Regions from separate parts of the Homo sapiens genome. Here region 1 is linked to region 2. Evidence: promoter capture Hi-C in human tissues and cell types (Jung and others, 2019). All regions are on one chromosome and are shown on one strand. The core of a region is centred on a gene start or on the middle of the fragment in contact, and the rest is flanking DNA. Distances in the headings are between cores, read along the strand shown.

Evidence for each region. Contacts are between HindIII fragments. The study calls those that stand out against the background at their distance.
Region 1: a contact is called between a fragment that was not itself captured here and the fragment with the promoter of FBXO2 in region 2, in 1 of the 25 tissues and cell types used here (H1 embryonic stem cells).

The regions. Positions count from the first base shown.
Region 1 is chr1:11,491,791-11,495,211 of GRCh38, forward strand. The region is part of intron 1 of DISP3 (dispatched RND transporter family member 3); the gene reads left to right. Among named protein-coding and RNA genes, the nearest start is that of DISP3, 14 kb to the left of the region's middle. The HindIII fragment of the contact is 6,238 bases long and covers 1-3,421 here.
Region 2 is chr1:11,653,179-11,656,424 of GRCh38, forward strand. FBXO2 (F-box protein 2) reads right to left here and starts at 1,251. Exons shown (of 6, transcript NM_012168.6): 1 at 1,141-1,251. The coding sequence starts at 1,162. It overlaps FBXO44 (F-box protein 44), which reads left to right and starts at 1,699. Exons shown (of 6, transcript NM_033182.7): 1 at 1,699-1,774; 2 at 2,628-2,922. The coding sequence starts at 2,658. RefSeq lists silencers at 1,201-1,340, 1,581-1,810, 1,861-1,930. The HindIII fragment of the contact is 14,481 bases long and covers 1-3,246 here.

The sequences.
Region 1 (3,421 bases), core at 286-2,785, 160 kb before region 2:
CTACAGCAGGGGCCAGTCCTGGGCTCTGGCTGGCTAAGAAGTTAATAATTGGCCGGGCGCGGTGGCTCACGCCTGTAATCCCAGCACTTTGGGAGGCCGAGGCGGGCGGATCACGAGGTCAGGAGATCGAGACCATCCCGGCTAAAACGGTGAAACCCCGTCTCTACTAAAAATACAAAAAATTAGCCGGGCGTAGTGGCGGGCGCCTGTAGTCCCAGCTACTTGGGAGGCTGAGGCAGGAGAATGGCGTGAACCCGGGAGGCGGAGCTTGCAGTGAGCCGAGATCCCGCCACTGCACTCCAGCCTGGGCGACAGAGCGAGACTCCGTCTCAAAAAAAAAAAAAAAAAAAAAAAGAAGTTAATAATCGTACTAGCTGCTCTGGTTCAGCAGGGGAGCAGTATCACCATCCCCATTTTACAGATTTCCCTCTTGGTGTTAGGGGGTCGGGTTCTGTCCCACTGAGCCCACTAGAGAGGGGACACCAGAACAGGAAAAGTGATAGTGGCTGTTGTGCCCATGAACGTTGGATCCCTCTGGTGTTGGCTGGGACGTTTCCTCAGGTGATATATTGACCCAGGCAAAGCTTGTTTGCCTGATAAATATTGAGCCATTGGGTTTTTCGAGTCAGCGCCCATAGTTTCCTCACCAGCTGTCAGCCCCAGGAGGCCAGTCATCCTTCATCCACTCCATCTGTGCAGCCTGACCTTCTCTGAGAAATGGGGGGCTTGGACAGGCTCGCCACAGAGCCCCCACCCGATTCCTCTCCCCACCCCCACCTGGGCTTCTAATAATAAGCCCAGATTTTCTTTGCAGAGAGGAATGGTCATTTGTACCCCCTCTGAATTTCCGGCTGGCAAATTGAGCCAACAAAGATCGTGTTTCTTAGGGGGCAGCAGGGGTGATGGGGAGTAGAGGTAGGTGCTTGCTTCAGCTGCAGCCACAAAGCCAGGTTTCCCTGGGGCTGGGGCAGGAGATATGGGGTGATAGATTCAGGATCTTCTTGCTGGGGAAAGAGCTCAGACAAGTGTGGAAAGTCACTCAGCCATACCCCTTCCTCTATGGATCTGGAAGGCATTCCCTGGCTCTGTTGCCGTGTTCATTTGAGATTCTAGGTAGGACTTGGAACATCTTCAGAGAAGACTCTGGGAGGGCCCTAGGATCCAGCTGCTAGGATGGGGCTCCCTGCTTCACTCCTACTTTCTCTCTGGGATGCTTCACGGCCCCATTGTATTAGGGTTCTCCAGAAGAAAATAACCAATAGCATATATATATCAGAGAGAGATTTATTAGAAGGAATTGGCTTATGTGATTATGGAGGCTGAGAAGCCCCAAGATCTGCAGGCAGCAAGCTGGAGACCCAGGAGAGCTGATGGTATAGTTGCAGTTTGAGACTGAAGGCCTGAGAACCAGGAGGGCCAATGGTGTAAGTTCTAGTCTGATAGCTGGCAGGCTGAAGACCCAAGAAGAGCTGATATTTCAGCTTGAGTCCAAAGGCCAGAAAAGACCAATGTCCAAGCTCTAGCAGTCAACAAAAACAATTTCCTCTTAGCCTTTTCATTCTATTCAGATCTTCAACTGATTCGTTGAGGCCCACCCTCATTAGTGAGAACCATCTGCTTTACTCTGTGTACTGATGCTGATCTTATCTGGAGGCTGGGCTTGGTGGCTCACTCCTGTAATCCTAGCACTTTGGGAGGCGGAGGTGGGCGGATCACTTGAGGTAGGAGTTCAAGACCAGCCTGGCCAACATGGCGAAACCCCGTCTCTACTAAAAATACAAAAATTAGCCAGGCATGGTGGCATGCACCTGTAATCCCAGCTACTTGGGAGGCTGAGACAGGAGAATCATTTGAACCTCAGAGGTGGAGGTTGCAGTGAGCTGAGATCATGCCACCACACTCAAGCCTGGGCAACAGAGCAAGACTCCATCTCAAAAAAAAAAAAATCTTATCTGGAAACACACTCTCTCTCTCACACACACACCCAGAATCATGTTTGGCCAAATATCTGGGCACCCCATAGTCCAGTCAAGTTGACACATAGAATTAACCATCACACCCATGACCCATTGAAGGGAAAGCCAAGCTTCTGAGGTTGGTGGGAGACTTCCTTTACATCATGCCCTGAGTTGCCACCTGCTGAAAGCAGAATTGCCAGGCCCCGAGTGATCTGTGGTCTTATGGGGATGGGGCAAACTTGCTAAAAGGCAATGGGTTTCTTCAACAAGTACTGACATATCAGCTCTCAAAGAGCTCATAGGCTACCTGGTATGGCCAAAAGAGCCTGGGCTTTAGGATCAATAGACCTGGGGTTCAAACTCCAGTTCTGCCCCTTAGTAGCTGTGTGACCACCAGGGAGTCACTTAACCTCTCTGATTCTGATTTTGCTTCTGTAAAAAGTGAATGCTCATAATGCCTTCCCTAGCGTCCTTGCAGGGCTGATGTGAGGATGACAGAGGATGGATAAGGAGTACTGGCACGTGGTAGATGCAGAGTTAATTATTATGATGGTCTTAATGGGTGTCAGAGTTTCTGCATTGAACTAGCTGGGCTGAACTAGCTGGGCTTTTGACTGCACTCCATGTGTGTGATTTTGCCCGTTTCACCACCACATCTCCAGTGCCTCTCCAGCCTCCTGGCCTAGGTGGAGTGTCCAGGTCTCGGGGAAAGGTTTGGGATTCTGATGACTGGCACATAGCCAGGACATCCGGAGAGCGGTGGATTCTCAGAAGACGGAGTATCAGGACGTAGGACAGTGATGCCTGGGAGGCACCAAGGCCTCCTCTTTTCTTTCCTCCCTTCTCTGGAGCTGTTCAACTCAAAATAACTCATTTTGAGCTTCTGCCCAAAACTCTCGACCCAAGGGTAAGAGAATCAAAGACCTCAAGATGTTCAAGGACCAGAGCTGAACCAGGGAAGGCAAAACATCCTGAGCCAGGAAGAAAAAGCTGATTAGCTCCTAATTGCCGTTAAATTGTATATACATATACGTAGTTTAAGTCAAATCTCCATGTCTAATGTGATTTTTTTATTACATTTTAATAGTCTGGCTGGTATGGGGGAGTGGAGAAGGAAGGGTTCTGTCATCCTTTGCCAGAGGAGGGAAGTTATAAACAGGACCACAGGGAGGCTCTGGCATGGGTTCACATCCCTGGGAGCCCCATCTGCTCTGGAGAGGAGTGAGGCCTGGCAGGGGCCTGGGGGTGTTTTTGAGGCAACACCACCTCCCACCAAAGCCCCATTCTGTCCAAATGGGGAAGTCCATCTGGCCTGTGACTTGAAGATTGGCTTTTCTCTTCAACTTCAAAAATGGCTCTCCCAACTGGGTGTGGCGGCTCACACCTGTAATCTCAACACTTTGGGAGGCCAAGGCGGGCAGATCGCTTGTCAGGAGTTCGAGACCAGCCTGGCCAACATGGTG
Region 2 (3,246 bases), core at 1-2,500:
TCCGGCCCTGGCCCCATCGGACACCTGATGCTCCCCGAAAGGTGCACCTCACCCAGTCCCCTCTTCTGGCCCCGGGGCCTGGCACTCGAGGCCCCAGATCCAATTACAGCTCCCCCCACCCTCTCTCTTACACACACAACTCCCCACATTGTTGCCGGCGGAAAGTTATCTGGCCCCTGGAAGCTGCCTGCCTGCGAGGCTGACTCACTCACCTGGAGTGGGCCCCAGAGTCCAGGGTATAGCTGATCCCTGGGAAAAAGCAGGAGCCAGTTCTGGAGCCCTACAGAGGGTGTGGCCAGAAGGCCGTGGATTGGGAGCAAGGGCTGCGAGAGCTGGAATTTTCAGGGCTGGAGGCGGGGGAATGGGGGGTGAGGGGGGGCCTGAGCTTTCATCAGTCTGTTTGCCACCGCCTAACCCAAGCAATGCCCATCCCCAGCTGGACCTGATGAGGAAAGAGTGAGGGCTGTCTGCAGGCAGGTCTTGTTTCCATCCTGACTCAGCAGGCAACCCCTGCAGGCCCCGCAGGGAGTTGGAGGGATGGGGGTGAGGGGTCTTGGGTGCCAGAGAGGATGACTGGGCAGCCTGGGAAGGCCCTGAGCACCAGCCAAAGCTGCCCCCAACGCTCCCTCACCGCTAGTCGGGTCCCCACTGGGCATCTCACCACCCCGGGGAGGGGCAGCCCCTCCAGACAAGGGAGCTCAGGAGGAAGGCAGGAATAGGTGAGGCCAGGCCTGGGACCCCAAGGAACCCACGGGGATTCAGACGGCCCAAGGCCCAGAGCTGGAAGAGCTGATGAAAGAAAAGGCTCGCAGCCTCCCTCCCAGACGCATCCCAGGCCCCCGCCAGACAGACCCTCAGGAAGCTGGGAGGCGGGAATGTGGGGGTCCTCTGGTGCTACTTCCTGGCTAAATGGGACCCAGGAGTTCTCTCTCCTTGCCAGTCGCCTCTCAAGGCCTCCCGCCAGACCAAGATAGCAGAGAGACGTGCTCTTTGGAGACCGCCTCTAGGGCTTCGCTGGCGTGAAAGTTTGCCGCGCCAGGTCTCCGGGTCCCCTCGCTCTCTGACGCCCCTCTGTGCAGCGCTCGCCCGCCGACCCCATCTCCCCTCCCCGCCGCAGCGAGCGGTCCAGGCGTCGGCTACCTGGGTCACCGTCTCCGTCCATCGCTGCGGAGGGCGGTCGCGAGAGGAGGAGCCGGAGCGCTGCGGGCTGCGCGAGTCCCGGGGCGGCGAGTCCCGGCGCTGTCCGCGTCTGTGTCGGTCCCGGCGACCGCGCCTCTTAAAGGCCCCCGACCCGACCCGCCCCGCCCCGCCTCTGGCCCCGCGCCCGGCCGCCCCGCAGTCCCAGCAGTCTGCTCGAGGCCCGGGGCTGCGGGTTCCTCAGCGGACCGAGGAGGCTGGGAAAGGTCAGGAGTCGTTTTTTTTCCAACTGGGGAGGGGTCCGATTTGGGGCATCTCGCAGCTCGCTCCTGGGGGACTGCTGGGAGGAGGCGGCTAGGGGAGGCACGGAGAGGCTGGGTCAGGCCGAGGGTGAGGGGCGGGTGGCCCAGGCGGAGTCGGAGTATAGGAGGTGCCTTCCGCCCCACCCCCCACACCAGGTAATTTTCCTACGACGCGGTGGGGGTGCGTCCCTGGCCCAGCGCTGCGCGGGGCGGGGCGCGGGGCGCGGGGGCGGGGCCTGGCGGGCCGGGGCGGGGCCTCGCTTTCCAGGCAAGCGCAGGTCCAGGCGGTGCAGCTTGGGCGGCCCAACGGATCGTGCCGCGGCGGCCGAGCGCAGGTGACCGGCAGGAGGGGGCGCGGGGGGCGCTGGGGAGGGGGCGCGGCTGGGCGGGGGCTGCCGGGAAGGCTCCTGGGTTCCGGGTCGCGCCGCAGTTGCCGAGGGAGGCCTGGCACCGACCAGGCCCAGGCCGCCGAGCTTGCCCGGGCTGCGCTGCGCGGCTGCGAACGGGGGCTGGGGTCGCCATCGATGTACAGGGGTCCGAGCCCAGACTTTGGGGGGCATTTTAAGGCACAGCGTGGGAAGGGGAGGCTGCAGGCGCGCTGGCGGACTTGGGGCTGGCGGAGCCCAGCCGCGGGGCTGGGGGTGGGAGTGGGGGTGGGGAGATAGGAAGGGCCCTTCCCTGTCGCCCACCCTCTTGCCACTCCCACCTAGGCAGGAGATCATGTCCTCTGAGATCTTGAGAAGGTGGCTGGAGCCCTTTGGACCTCCGCGGGAGGCAGTGATAATTAGCCTCCTCCTCCCATCATGTTCTGAGGATGGGAGAGAGGATGGTGACGGCACCGGAGGCCTGGGGTGCTCTGCCCGGCTGCGCATTATATCCCCATTAAAGACTGGCCTACTGAAAAAGGCTGGCCCTGGAATCAAAGAAGATCCGGGCTTCTTCCCCCTCTGCCCTTATTTTTGACCTTGGGCAGTGCCTTCCACCTCTATTGTGAGAGGCCAGAGAAAAAAATCAGAGCTCACCTTTTATTAAAGTACCTGATGTGTCCCAAGCTCCTTGGACCGCCCCAGTGACCCCTGGAGGTAAGGCATCCATTTACAGAGAAGGAAACAGGCTGGGAGAGGCACCATGCTCTCCCGAGATAAATGGCAGAGCAGGGATGAGGCCTGCAGCATAGCTTTTCAACAGCTACAGGAGGGTGTCCAGAAGCCACAAGCCATGGCTGTGGGGAACATCAACGAGCTGCCCGAGAACATCCTGCTGGAGCTGTTCACGCACGTGCCCGCCCGCCAGCTGCTGCTGAACTGCCGCCTGGTCTGCAGCCTCTGGCGGGACCTCATCGACCTCGTGACCCTCTGGAAACGCAAGTGCCTGCGAGAGGGCTTCATCACTGAGGACTGGGACCAGCCCGTGGCCGACTGGAAGATCTTCTACTTCTTACGGAGCCTGCACAGGAACCTCCTGCACAACCCGTGCGCTGAAGGTGGGGTACAGGCCGGGTCTGGCATGCCTCCAGTACACAGTCATGACACCAGGAACATGTATTGAGCACTTAGTATGAGCCGGGTACTTTGGATGGTTTAACACCTTTACTTCTCTCACAGTAACCCAAAGAGGTAGCTACTGTTAGTGCACACATTTTTCAGATGGGCAAACTGAGGCCAAGAGTGGTGTTTCTTATTCTTACTATACTCTTTTTTTTTTTTTTTTTTTTTTGAGACGGAGTTTCACTCTGTCACCCAGGCTGGAGTACAGTGACACAATCTTGGCTCACTGTAACCTCCACCTCCCAAGTTCAGCCTCCCAA